Linked DNA regions of Homo sapiens: regions 1, 2, 3 and 5 are each linked to region 4. Evidence: promoter capture Hi-C in 16 types of primary human blood cells and fetal thymus (Javierre and others, 2016). All regions are on one chromosome and are shown on one strand. The core of a region is centred on a gene start or on the middle of the fragment in contact, and the rest is flanking DNA. Distances in the headings are between cores, read along the strand shown.

Region 1 (2,700 bases), core at 39-2,538, 240 kb after region 4:
TAGTCTTCACTCCATGGAGCCACTACATTATAAGTGAGAAGATTCATGTGTGCTAGGTGTTTAGCACAGAGCAGGTGCAATCAGCACCCTGGAATGTTTGCTCTGACCTTCCCTAGTCATGCTCCCACTTTACAGAATGTCATGTTGAAGGCCCCTCCAAGCTTTCATCCTGAGGAATCTTGATATGGCAGCCCGCGCTCCCAATTCCATTCAGACCCTTCAGAGGCATTCTGACTCCTCTCCAATGAGCCTTGGAATGTGGCAATTGAAATTGTTTCAAAGATTCTAGATACACTGTAATTTACAGAGTTTAGCTTGCATATCCCTTTCTGAGGATGCTTTACATTTAGTTGGCGTTTGTTTTTAGTTCCAGTACTTTGAGCTCACAGGAAACTCCATAAGGATAACTCACAGGGATTGCTGAATCCCATAATTATTTAAGTGTGATTTCCTTGTTCTCTTGCTTACCTTGAAATTTTCTACTTCTATTCTGGCCGCTCTCAGAACTTAGTGAGCTGTTTTGCCATTTATTCTTAGTAGCTTGACATTCTGCTTCTCTAGAAAACGTATCGTGATGTGCAAACTTGGAGATCTCAATTCTGAATTACTTATAGAAATTTAAGACTAATTCTAGCACAAATGCCTGGGAGGTCATTAGTATTTGCAGTTTTTCTATTCAAAGAAGAATCATCCATCTTTCCCCAGTCTTTGGCTGAGTTCTCAGTTCTTCAGGCCTGGATTTATTTTGTTTTAGGCACTAAATCCATGTGCCTGAGCTAACTTGCATTTTAACTTTACGTGGTCACTCTATCCATATCTGATATTTGGCTTTTTGCATGATTAAATTCTGGCTCCTGAGCCCCATGATTGGGGATAAGCACAGCCTTCAGTTTAGACCCTCAGTAACACACTCAGGTTAGCTGTTCCTCTAATTGTCTTTTTGCCAGGCGTTGTGCCAGCATATCCATGCTAGGTCTTGTGCTAGGGAGACATGAATTACAACCCCAGTGTTGTTTTCCTGTCTTTACTACCTCAGAGATTTCTTGTCATGAATCAAGCAACAGAACTGAAATTGATATTTAACTTTGTAAACTTCCCAGTGCCAGAATGCCCCAAATGATTACATTAAACAAGAACTACTTGCAAAGCTGTTCTTCTGTTTGTGTGTTTTGTCAGCCTTTGAAAGATTAACCATGTGTGGACGTGAATCCAATAAGAGATACATACTTCCTATGTACCGTGGAATGAGGAAGTAGCAAGGGAACTTCACTGATAGCAAGCTGGGTCTCTCTCGTGATGGAAATAACAGTGTAGGCCACATGTGGTGGCTCATGCCTGTAATCCTAACACTTTGGGAGGCCGAGGTGGAAGGATTGCTTGAACCCAGGAGTTTGAGACCAACTGGGCAACATAGTAAGATCCCATTTCTAAAAAAAAAAAAAGAAAATACAAAAATTAGCTGGGCGTGGTGGCATGTGCCTGTAGTCCCAGCTACTGGGGAAGCTAAGGCAGGAGGATCTCTTGAGCTGGGAAGATCAAGGCTGCGGTGAGCTGTGATCACACCACTCCATTCCAGCCTTCATGACAGAGTGGGACCCTGTCTCAAAGAAAGAAAGAAAGAGAAAAGAAAGATAAAGAGAGACAGAGAAAGAGAAAAAGAAAAATAGCAGTGAAGCCATTCTGCATTTTAAAAGCCAAGATTGATTGGATTCTGTAACATTCTTGGTACTGTTTTGTTCTGACTCCAAATTCCAACAGTACAATGAAAGCCAAGCCTTTTTTGGATTAAAATAAATGACTGACATTAATCTTCCTCTTGCTCATCTACTGCTTTATTACTTACAAAGCCTTGCCCCAGTCATCTCACTTAGCCAAACCCAGACCAACCTGTGCAGCTGTCCTGATAGCCCTTACTCAGAGCTTTGGTAAACCAGTTTGTTCTTTTCTTTCCAGAACCAGGTTTGGACCAGCTAAGAAAGTTCCTAGAAGCAGGCTGGGTTAGAAGAAGTCTCCCACTTTCTCCCCATATCCTTGTCTCTTCCCAAATGCTGCTACTCTGCTTTTGTTTGTTCTACTCAGACGTGTAGCTTAGTGTTCTTCCATCATAGGGGGCCTGCAGAGAACCAGGAGGGGAAGAAGAAGGACTCCACATCCTTTACTCCTTTTCAACAGCAGCCTTTGAAATCACCAGATCATCTTCGAGCTTCTCAGTGCTCCCTATTGATTCAAACAACAGATCTAGAAGTTAGGAGTCCTAGGTTCAAGTTCTTATTTTGCTACTAACTGAGTCAACTTGGGCAAGTCTTTCAACTTCCTGGGGTCCTTAAACCTCATTCTGTAGATGAGAACGTTAGATTGGATGGCCTCCCATACTCTGTCCAATCCCAGCACGCCATGTATTATAGAGAAGCTTCGAGTGCCTGCTATGAGTGAGACAGAGTCTTGGTACCTGCTCCTCAGTAACTAGAGTGCAGTTGGGGAGTGAAGGCACCACACAGTGTTATCAGTATGAGGCTATGTGTCATGGAATGCCCAGGCCGTTGATGGCTGAGACTCACAATTTTGACTGCAGCACTGGAAAATAATACTGAATGCAATTCGTAAACAAGTCTGTGAGCTCTTGGGAGGCCAAATATCATCAACTCTTTTGCAATTTGTTAGCGTAGGGACAGATGTTTGCAAATTGTAGATATTTACATG
Region 2 (2,700 bases), core at 170-2,669, 210 kb after region 4:
TAAATTACAAATTTAAAATATTTTAGCTTGTCTTGATGTTTTAAACTTTTTGTAAGCTATTAAGAGTTATAATTAGAAAAACTTTATATTTCTGTAATTATAGATATTCTTAACATAAGGGAGATAGTCAAGTCGTCTGGGGTTATTTTTATTTATTAATTGAATGATTTTTCCCACTAGAATTGTCATTTTTCATAGGTAAAAAGATTTTTTATGATTTTGAACGTTTTTGAAAATCCAAGCATGTTATTTCAAGAGCAGCCTCAGCCTCAGCCTTTTTATTATTCTATGCAAAAACATCTTTCTACGTGAAAATCATCATTTGTGGCAGCTTGGAATAATGTCCCGCTATTGCTGGACATACCAAATTAAGTACCTCATTTAAGGGACATACCAAATAGTGTTATAAATAAGTCACAACCACAACTAAACTTTTCTAGGTTCTATTGACAGCATATATGAAATTCTTAGTTCTGATACAACATTTTGGTAGGTAAAAATTTTCCATTTTTAAGCGAAATGAAAGAAAAAGAAACCTACCACCAACCCAAAATATCTGGCAGCTCTTAACATCCTAAAATATGTGGAGAGAAGGGGAAGTAGAATCAAGCCAAGGTGGGGGAAATGTTTTGCTTTATATTTACTTGGAACTTTTCAGAAAGCATTTTTGTTTTTTAGATGGAGTCTTGCTCTGTGGCCCAGGCTGGAGTGCAGTGGCGCGATTTCAGCTCTGCAACCTCTGCCTCCCAGGTTCAAGCAATTCTCCTGCCTCAGCCTCCCAAGTAGCTGGGACTACAGGTGCACGGCTAATTTTTTGTATTTTAGTAGAGACGGAGTTTCACCATGTTGCCCAGGCTGGTCGCAAACTCCTGAGCTTAGGCAATCTGCTGGCCTCGGCTTCCCAAAATGCTAGGATTACAGGCGTAAGCCACTGCGCCCGGCCTTCAGAAAGCTTCTTTACAAGCTTATCTGACATTGAACATTTTATTACCAGGTGTAGTGACACTTGAAAGACTGATTTCAAATTGTTTTAACTTTGATCTAATGGGAAAACCTTTCTTACTTAATGTCAATGCCTTTTACATTTAAATTATCACTTAGTCTATATTTAATAATGTACCTAAATATGAAATTTCTCTTTTGGACAACAAATTTAATTTTAATTTCAATTTTAAATTTCATTCAAATTTAAAATTTAAATGAGTTGTATTCCCATGGCTCAAGTGCATCCAGAATTTCCTTATTCAGTCTTGAATAACCATCAATAACTACACTAAGGAATTAAGAAAATAATCTTCAGGTGCTAATCTCCAAAACAATCTGTCTTAGAGTGTCGATATTAGCTTGTAACTTACTGTTTTTTTATTCATTTAGTTCATTTGGTATTGATCTTAGAAAAACGATAGGGTTGGTTGTGTCCCCACCCAAATCTCATCTTGAATTGTAGTTTCCATAATCCCCATGTGTCCTGGGAGGGACCAGGTGGAGATAATTGAATCCTGGGACTGGTTTCCCTCATCCTGTTCTCATGATAGTGAGTTAGTTCTCGCGAGATCCTATGCCTTTATATGGGGCTTCCCCCTTTCGCTGGGCACTCGTCTTCTTCCTTGCCGCTCTGTAAAGAAGTGCGTTCAGCCGTGATTGTAAGTTTCCTGAGGCCTCCCTAGCCATGCGGAACCGTGAGTCAATTAAACCTCTTTTCTTTATAAATTACCCACTCTTGGGTATTTCTTCATAGCAGCGTGAGAATGGACAATTACAGATGCCAATACAAGTTATTTGAAGTTAACAAAAGCATAAGTTAATGGTTATAAATAACAGTAGAACAGTTTAGTCATGAGAATTACTTCCAATCTGAACACTTGAAAGCTTTTAACTTGGCAATCATTTTAATGTGCTAATTCTGTTTCATTTCTCCTTTTCCCTAAGTATCTACTCTTTGCTCCCAAAAGTAAACATATTCCCTTTGCATCATAATGCATTCCCTCCATAATTTCAAAGTTCCATTTTCTATAAATCAGAAATAATTTATAAAGCATTTGTTGTGGAGTATACCAAGTATACGCAACCAGGTATAACACAAAATTACTAATTTCTTAAACATTCATAGCTGGGCCAGAGCTCAGGTAAAGCAGAGGAGGTGACTAGGGTGATGAATTTAAAGAGGCACTCCTTTTTAAGGCTGACCCTGTATTTACGGGACCCTGAGAGCGAGTGGCCTCATGAAATTTTGCTCTAGAAAACCTCTCTTTACTCACCCTAGTCCCAGCCCTGACTCATAGCATCTAGTTATGTTCTTTTGCTGTTTGCATGAATAAAAATGGCTTTCTAAATATTGTTATACCTTTGTTTTTAGTACACATTGAAACATAAACATTTAAATCTGAATTTAAAAGAGTACTTTTTAAAGAACTTCTAAATTCATCAATATCAAGATAATTAGTACCAGTTTTTCTGAAGCATCAAACCTAGATTCCTTTGAGATCCTTCCCCTAGTATACTGTAAACACTTAAGGTCAGAGCCTGTATCTTATTGATGATTCAGTACCTTTTCCAGTGTCTGCCCAGGGACAGTTCACATAAGTGATGAATACTTGAATGAATCTTTAATAAACAGTGACAAAAATCCATGTACATTCTAAGAATTGACTTCCAAAATTATTTTATGTGTATTCCTCAGATGAAAATAGTTTTATTCCA
Region 3 (2,700 bases), core at 94-2,593, 170 kb after region 4:
CTTATATAGCTGATTATCTCCCAGGAGCAATGCTTCTCTGAGGCTTCAATTCCTTGTCCTGCACTCTTGTAAGAGCTGGTGATATGGTCTAGTATGTCCAAACCTGTGTTCAGTATTTTATACTTTGTATTGGAGCTTCTCTTTCTGGGGGTAAGGAGACTATTCTGTTTGTGCGTTGTCTAAATACTCTGAACCACTCTGCTTGTTCTCATGGAGTCTTTTAAGTCTCCCCTACACTTGTTCTTGGCATCCACAGACTTACAGCAATAGAACCTTTATGGGAATTTAGTTTATTTCTGAACTTCCATCTAATGTCAAGGCCATGATATTCTCTGTCTCCTAGTATTGTGAAATGCAGGGCCAAGTGAGATTTTACTTGTTCTCCCCTTTTTTATTGTTTGGAACAGAGGGGAGGGACAGTGGGGAGATTCAAGATCAGGTAGCCACCATCCTCCTCCAAACCCAGAAGTAGCACAGATAGATTCTTTTTAATCATTAGGTTTATTGACATATAATTACTTACACTAATCTTTCATACTTTGTTAGTTGATTAAATAAACTAAGTATAAAACCAGAAACTGGTATAAAAACAGAAGTACAGTATAAAATAGAAGTATTTCCAGTAGTATAAAAACAGAAGTACTTCCAATACGATAAAGAATAAGGAAAAAAATGCCTACCATCTCTACTATTGTTTAACAATAAATTGAGGTGGGGCGTGGGGGATTAGCCAACATAATTAGACAAGTGAAATCAATTAGAGGCATAAGACTGAAAAATTTCTATATGGAGCTATAACAGTATATCAAGAAAAGTCCAGAGACTCAATTATAAAACTAAGTCAAATAATAAAAGATTCAGGGCCAGGTGCAGTGGCTCACGCCTGTAATCCCAACACTTTGGGAGGCCGAGGCTGGCTGATCACCTGAGGTCGGGAGGCCAAGACCAGCCTGACCAACATGGAGAAACTCTGTCTCTACTAAAAATACAAAATTAGCCGGGCGTGGTGGCACATCCACGTAATCCCAGCTACTTGGGAGGCTGAGGCAGGAGAATTGCTTGAACCTGAGAGGCAAACGTTGCGGTGAACCGAGATCACGCCACTGTACTCTAGCCTGGGCAATAAGAACAAAACTCCGTCTCAAAAAAAAAAAAAAAAAAAAAAAAAAGATGCAGGAAGCAAGAATAATTAACACATGGAAATCAGTAGCCTTTATATACTCAAACAATAACCAGTTAGGGGATATAATGGCAGACAAAACTTCATATACAATAAATAGCCATATAAACATAAGATTAACCCAACTCAAAAATACATCTTAAAATTACACCAAGATACCACTTCCTATCTATTAGATTGGTAAAAATTAAAAAGTATGTCAAGACAGTTTATTGAAGCAGCATCTGAGAAAGAGGTACACTCACACACTGCTAGCAGAAATACAAACTGGTACAACTTTCCTGATGAAGAACTAGGCAATACCTAACGAAACTACATATGTACTTAACTTTGACCCAGCAATGCCACTTTTAGGAATTTATCCTTAAGTGATTCCACCAGCAAGACAAAAGCATATCTACAAGATTATTTATTGCTTATAATTGCTAAATATGGAATGATCTAAGAGCCAACACACAGGATAGGAGAGTGGCTGAATGAGTTATGGCACACATATAGCGGAGTACTATGCAGTTATTTTTAAAAGTCAAGAAGTTCTCTATGAACTGTTATGAAGTGACTCCTGGGATAAAATTTTACATGAAAAAAGCGAGTGTATAAAAATGTCTACAGTATGTCACCTTTTGTTTTAAAAAAAAGGAAATTTTAAAAAATATAGGACAGAAATGGGAAGGCAAGAACAGTTAGAAGGGATGGGTGGATAGAATGAATATCTGTTTCATCCTCACTTTGAAGACCATGTTGTCTTACACACTCAAAAACTAAGTCAACAAAGATGGGGGGACTTAAAATGAAATACAAATAGAAAAAAATAAATCTAACGATACTTTAGATGAATAACATAATTTAATGGGGGAAGCTGAGAAGTGGGAAGGAATAGCCTAAGTAATTTCTGAATTATTTGAGAAACTAGAAGCAAAAACACCATAGTAGCAATGAGCACATCTAGTTCCCAGACCTTGGTTTCTCAATACCATTCCCTACTAAAAGGGATCAAAGCTCCTTAAAGAAATAGCTGACTCAGGGTTGGGCTGGAAAAACACAAGATACATATGGAAATATTTTGGTGTATTTAGTAAGGAAGGGCTCAAAAAACGACAAAGAAATACCAAAAGATCACAGAAGACAGCCTGAAGGGGATCCTATTAGTCAAATCTTGGACCATTGGAATACCAAAATAAATTATCACAGTAATTATTTATAACCCAATGAATTTTAAATAAGAATCCATGAGTTAAATCTGTATACATTTTATGTACATTATATATATGTAATATTTATCATAAAGTATGTTATCATGTATCACACATTTTCCTACTGATAAATATATCCCAACATTTCCTTGAAGAAGTGATGACTGAAGTGAGATGTGAATGATGAGGTGTTAGGTGCAGAGAACGCTGAAGGAGATTCCAGGGAGAGACAACAGCACCTACAAAGAGGAAGCAGGAAGGATAGAAGAAACTGAAGAAGGTAAGTGACTAGGCACAGAGAACAATGGAGAACGTGGGACAAAATGA
Region 4 (2,700 bases), core at 162-2,661:
CGGGGCTGCGGCAGTAGATGATGGGGTTGAAGGCCGAGTTGGCGTAGCCCAGCCAGTTGAAGAAGACGAAGAGGCGGTCGGGCACCAGCTCGCGGTGGAAGGCCTTCACCACGTTGGCCAGGAAGAAGGGCAGCCAGCAGAGCGTGAAGACGCCCATGATGATGCCCAGCGTCTTGAGCGCCTTCTGCTCGCGCAGGGCCACGAGGCGCGAGGGCCGCCGCTTACCCGCACGCCCGTTGGCCAGCGGGGCGGTGGCGGCGGCGGCGGCGGGGCGCGGGGGTCCGGGCGGCGGCGCGGGCGCGGGGACGGGCGAGGGCGAGGGCGAGGGCGGCCGCGCTGGGCCGCCGAGGAAACGGCGCTCGCAGCTGTCGATCTTCTTCACCTGCTTCTGGGCCTCGCGGAACACCCGCAGGTACACGAAGGCCATGATGCACAGGGGCACGTAGAAGGAGACTACGGACGAGGCGATGGCGTAGGCCCGGTTGGTGACGAAGTCGCAGCACTTGGGGTCGTTGTAGCAGCGGCGCGCCTCGTCGCTCTCCGCCCGCCACCAGTGCATGAGGATGGGCAGGAAGGACACCAGGGCCGAGATGGCCCACACGGTGCACACGAGGCCCCGCGCCCGCGCGCGCGTCAGCAGGCTCTGGTAGCGGAAGGGCGAGGTGATGGCGAGGTAGCGGTCCAGGGCAATGACACACAGGGTCTCGATGCTGGCCGTCACGCACAGCACGTCCACTGAGGTCCACAGCTCGCAGAAGAAGGAGCCGTACTCCCAGCGGCCCCACACCACGATGGTGGCCCCGAACGGCACCACCAGCAGCCCCATGACCAGGTCGGCGCTGGCCAGGGACATGATGAAGAGGTTGGTGAGCGTCTGCAGCCGCGGCGTCTTGGCGATGGCCACGATCACCAGCACATTGCCCGCCACGATGAGCAGCACGATGAGCGCCATCAGCAGACCCATGCCCGCTGTCCACTGCTGAGACAGCGGCTCGGGGCTTTCGCTGGCGGGAGGCAGCAACGAGGCGGGCGGCGACGCGGGCACCAGCAGCCGCGCCGCGGTGGCCGCGCCGTCGGGGAGCGGTGCGGCCGACGACAGGTTACCGGGCTCGGAGGCGCCCAGGACGAGCACCCCCGCGCCCATGCCGAGCTGCGGAGGCCGGGGGCGGGGGGTGTGGCAGGGCTGGGCCGTGGTTGGGGAACACCCCAGAAGCCCGGGCGGCGTGGTGCGCAGAGGGAGGTCGCGGCCGGGTCAGGGCAGCCGCGGCGCGGGGCCGGAGGCATGGGCGCCGGGCGCCTTTCCCGCAGGAGCCGAGCGCTGTCGCTGCCGCTGCCGCCGCCGCCGCCGCCGCCGCTGCTGCTGGAGCCGCTGCCGCTGCTGGAAGAGCCGCCGGGACTTCAGCATGTTTCTGAGCGCGCCGGGCCCGCAGCTCCGGCACCCAGCACCCACCCCACCCCGCTCCCACTCCCCAAGCCAACCCCCGGGGCCTCGCGTCAGGCTCCTGCAGCCAATCCGGGCAAAGGCACGCCCCCGTCTGGTCTGCACCCCCACCTCCAACTCCCCGCACCCCCCTCCCGTTGGCAATTGAGCGGCTCCTGAGAGTCCCGAGCTGATCGCGTAGCTAGTGCCTCCCGTGCGCCCGCGGGTTCCTGCGGACGCACCCCTTCCTGCGCCCGCTGGTTCCTGGTCCCTGTTCCCCCGCGCCCCCTTCCGCGCCTGGCTCCCCCCGGGGCCCCGTCCCCTCCCTCAGCCCCCACTCGCTCCCGCACCCACTCCTGCGCCCCGTTTGCCTCCCGCACCCGCTCCTGCGCCCCGTTTGCCTCCCGCACCCGCTCCTGCGCCCCGTTTGCCTCCAGCACTCGGCTCCCTCCTGCGCCCCCGCTCCCCCCGCATCCCCTCGACCTGCAGTTCCGGGGTTCTCTGCGGAACAGAGCGCTAGCTCCCTTGAGCGGGGAGGGGACCTTGGTGTTCAGGAAGCGCCAGAGCGCCTGGGACAGCTTGTCCGCCAGGCTTGGAGGAGTTTGCCCTGCGAGCTTGGTTGTGATGTGGGGCAGCCTAGCAGGGTGTGTGTAAAACCCTTCCCCCGTCAAGACGGGACCCAGCCAGCATGCGTCGTGACAGCTTGGGGGATTGGAGGTGGGTGTTAGTGGTTAGAAGAAACTTCCCAGCAGAGCGGGTTGCTGGAGCCAAGCGCGCATCTGTCAAGAATGCTCTCTGGGCGCTGTTCTTGCAAGGATCCTCTGTTGAACCTCGAGTGCAGTAGATGTGGAAAGGAAGCGAAGGTTTGTGCATCTAACAGCTAACGCTGAGGGCCCTTTGGAATCGTACACACTCCTCAGTCCTAGCTAATGAACGTGTGAGCATGATGCAAAAATGTATGCTCATGATATGAAAGGAGAGGCTTAGGGAGACAGAAACGTTGAGATACAGAGTAAACGATACCACCGCGAGGGGGAAAAAACGCGTTTAATTACATTTTAGACTTTTCAATGATAACACCTGTATTTTGTGTTTTATTACTCATGTGATTTTATAATTTGAGCTGGGTCAATACAAACAAAAAGGTACTGTCAGTTTATGCTGACGTAATGAACTGCGATTTCAGATTCCTTGGTCTGCGTGCTTGTTTTCTCCTTTGCCCAAGTTCCCAGATTCTCAAAACTCTGAGATTAGTTTTGAAGGGATGAGACAAGAAAACA
Region 5 (2,700 bases), core at 174-2,673, 150 kb after region 4:
TGGAACTGTGAGTTAATTAAACCTCCTTTCTTTATAAACTACCTAGTCTCAGGTAGTATCTTTATAGCAGTATGAGAATGGACTAATACAACAGGCTCATCAGTTGACTAGACACAGCTGAAGAAAGAATTAATGACTGAAGATAAATTGGTAGAAATTACTAGTACAAAAAGAAAAAATAAGAAGAATGAATAAAAAGAACACAATATGCAAGAGTTATTGAATATAATATTAAGAAGAAATCTAACATGAGTAACTGAAGTCCCAGAAAGAGAAAGACAGAAAGGGGCAGAAAAAAATATCTGAAGAGATAATGAGTGAGAATTTCTTGACAATAATGAACATCAAACCACAGATTCAAGAACTCCAAGCAGGATAATTCTTAGATATATCAAACTGCTGAAAACCAAAGATAAAATCTTGAAAGCAACCAGAGAAAAAAATACACTTTACATATAAAGAACAAGAGATAATATTAAAACAGGTGTCTTGTGGAAAACTATGTAAGTCAAAAGACAATGGAGTAATATCTTTAAAATAGTAAAAGAAAAAAATGTTAATCCAGATTCACATACGCAATAAAAATAACTTTCAAAAATGAAAGCTAGATACTTTTTCAGACCAGAATAAAGGCAAGAAAAATCACTGCCAGCAGACCTGTGTCATAAGAAGTTCTTCAGGCAGAAGCAATGACTCCCAACAGACATTTGGGACTTTAAGAAAACAGCCACTGTGGAAAACAGTCTGGCAGTTTCTTGTACACATTCACTTACCATATGACCCAGTAATCTCATTCTTAGGCATTTGCCCAAGAGAAGTGAATGCATATTACCACAAAACAAAAACTGTGCACAAACGTTTATGGAGGTTTTCTATAGCCACTGAAAACTAGAAATACCTTCAAATGTCTATTAACTGGTGAATGAATAAACAAACTGTGGTAGAGCCATACAACGAACTACTACTCAGTGATAAAAGAGAACAAATTACTGATACATGGAACCACAGGGATGAATCTCAAAAACATTATGCTAAATGGAAGAAGCCAGACATGAAAGATGACAGAGAACAGGAAAGAGATCACTGCTGCCAGTTGCTGCAGTGAGTGTGGTGATGGCGGGGGGAGACTCAACAACAGGCTATGAAATAACTTTTTGGGATGAAAATATTCTGTATCTTGACTGTGGTAAAAGTTACAAGACTGCACTTCTTTGTCAAATTTCATAGAATTATATACCTAATAAGGGTAAATTTTACTGTATATAAATTATACCTAATTAACCTAAAAAAAATCAACACCAAGTCAATGTGATAAGGCAGTATAAGAATCTTCTCTCAAATTTTAGACATAAAGATATAACTTATTTTAACAAAATAAAAATGTACTAGTCATACTGCATCAAATTTATTCCTTCAAAACTCCGTGTCATCTGATTTTTTTAAAGCAAAAATATTTTCATGGTATTTTATATCATATTAATAATGCGAGTCAGAGAAGCATTTATTGAAGCACATAAATACGAACACTGTAGATTATCAGACTAGCATACTAAATAGTTGGATTTCAACCATTAAAGGTTGTAGAAGAATGGCTAAACTTCTATCTAGGGAAAATGTTGATTAAAGGGCCAAGAAAGGTTAATGGGATTCTGGCACGTTATCCTTTCTATAAATGACTCAAAATCAGGTAAAGTCTTAAAGTACTTAGATACTGATAGGGGTTTTGGCTGGGCGCAGTGGCTCATACCTGTAATCCCAGCACTTTGGGAGGCCAAGGCGGGCAAATCACTAGAGGTCAGGAGTTAGAGAACAGCCTGGCCAACATGGTGAAACCCCATCTCTACTAAAAATACAAAAATTAGCCAGGCATGGTGGTGCACACCTGTAATCTCAGCTACTTGGGAGGCTGAGGCAGGAGAATTGCTTGAACCCGACAGGCAGAGGTTGCAGTGAGCCGAGATCACGTCACTGCACTCCAGCCTAGGTGATATGGCGAGCCTCAGTCTCAAAAAAAAAAAAAAAAAAAGATACTGATAGGAGTTTCAACCTTTATGCTAAACGTCTTTCAGGTTGTTGTCTGGTACAAATGGAGTCAACACAGACCTGATACACATTTTAGAAACATTACAATGTATCTGCTGAAAAAATGAACTTACTGTAGTAATTATTTTTGGTGCATGATGTTCTGACCACATTAAGAATGACAATTAAAAAATGAACACAGATAAAATGTAATTTTGTAAAAGTCACTTTATATTAATTATTTTTATAACTATACGGCATAGTCAGGTTAAATATTCAGATACCATTTAAAATACATAAACACATGCATTTACATACTACATGTAGATTTAAAATAATGAGATATTTCTAGTCCCTTTCCTACATCTTTTTCAAATTTTTAATTGACCAATAATAATTGTGTACATTCGTGGGGTACAATGTCATGTTTTGATCTATGTGTATACTGTAGAAAGATTCAATCAAGCTAAATAATATATCTATGAATATACCAACATTTTTTTCTGTGTGGTGCAAATGTTAAATATTTATTCTTTTAGCAGCTGTGAAATACACATTAATAACTACAAGTCAGTCACCATGCAGTGCACAATTATCTCTAAAACTTATTCCTCCAATTGAAACTTTGTACCCTTTGATCAACCTCTTCCCTTTCCCCATACCTTCCCTTATTCCTAG

Evidence for each region. The method cuts DNA at HindIII sites, captures the fragments that hold promoters and counts their contacts. A CHiCAGO score of 5 or more calls a contact.
Region 1: a fragment that was not itself captured here is called in contact with the fragment with the promoter of ADRB1 in region 4 in 14 of 17 cell types (megakaryocytes, endothelial precursors, total B cells and 11 more); the score reaches 9.4 in megakaryocytes.
Region 2: a contact is called between a fragment that was not itself captured here and the fragment with the promoter of ADRB1 in region 4, in 5 of 17 cell types (total CD8 T cells, naive B cells, endothelial precursors and 2 more). The highest score is 5.9, in total CD8 T cells.
Region 3: a contact is called between a fragment that was not itself captured here and the fragment with the promoter of ADRB1 in region 4, in 2 of 17 cell types (megakaryocytes and M0 macrophages). The highest score is 5.7, in megakaryocytes.
Region 5: a fragment that was not itself captured here is called in contact with the fragment with the promoter of ADRB1 in region 4 in 1 of 17 cell types (neutrophils); the score reaches 5.2 in neutrophils.

What each region holds. Positions count from the first base shown.
Region 1 is chr10:113,801,751-113,804,450 of GRCh38, reverse strand. No RefSeq gene overlaps it. Among named protein-coding and RNA genes, the nearest start is that of MIR4483, 25 kb to the right of the region's middle. The HindIII fragment of the contact is 2,249 bases long and covers 164-2,412 here.
Region 2 is chr10:113,827,678-113,830,377 of GRCh38, reverse strand. No RefSeq gene overlaps it. Among named protein-coding and RNA genes, the nearest start is that of DCLRE1A, 25 kb to the left of the region's middle. The HindIII fragment of the contact is 905 bases long and covers 967-1,871 here.
Region 3 is chr10:113,869,485-113,872,184 of GRCh38, reverse strand. All of the region lies in intron 2 of NHLRC2 (NHL repeat containing 2), which reads right to left. Among named protein-coding and RNA genes, the nearest start is that of NHLRC2, 16 kb to the right of the region's middle. The HindIII fragment of the contact is 5,851 bases long and covers 1-2,700 here.
Region 4 is chr10:114,042,577-114,045,276 of GRCh38, reverse strand. It overlaps ADRB1 (adrenoceptor beta 1), which reads right to left and starts at 1,411. Exons shown (of 1, transcript NM_000684.3): 1 at 1-1,411. The coding sequence starts at 1,144. RefSeq lists silencers at 1,314-1,373, 1,444-1,723 and an enhancer at 1,994-2,043. The HindIII fragment of the contact is 8,909 bases long and covers 1-2,700 here.
Region 5 is chr10:113,888,152-113,890,851 of GRCh38, reverse strand. The region is part of intron 5 of NHLRC2 (NHL repeat containing 2); the gene reads right to left. Among named protein-coding and RNA genes, the nearest start is that of NHLRC2, 35 kb to the right of the region's middle. The HindIII fragment of the contact is 8,562 bases long and covers 1-2,700 here.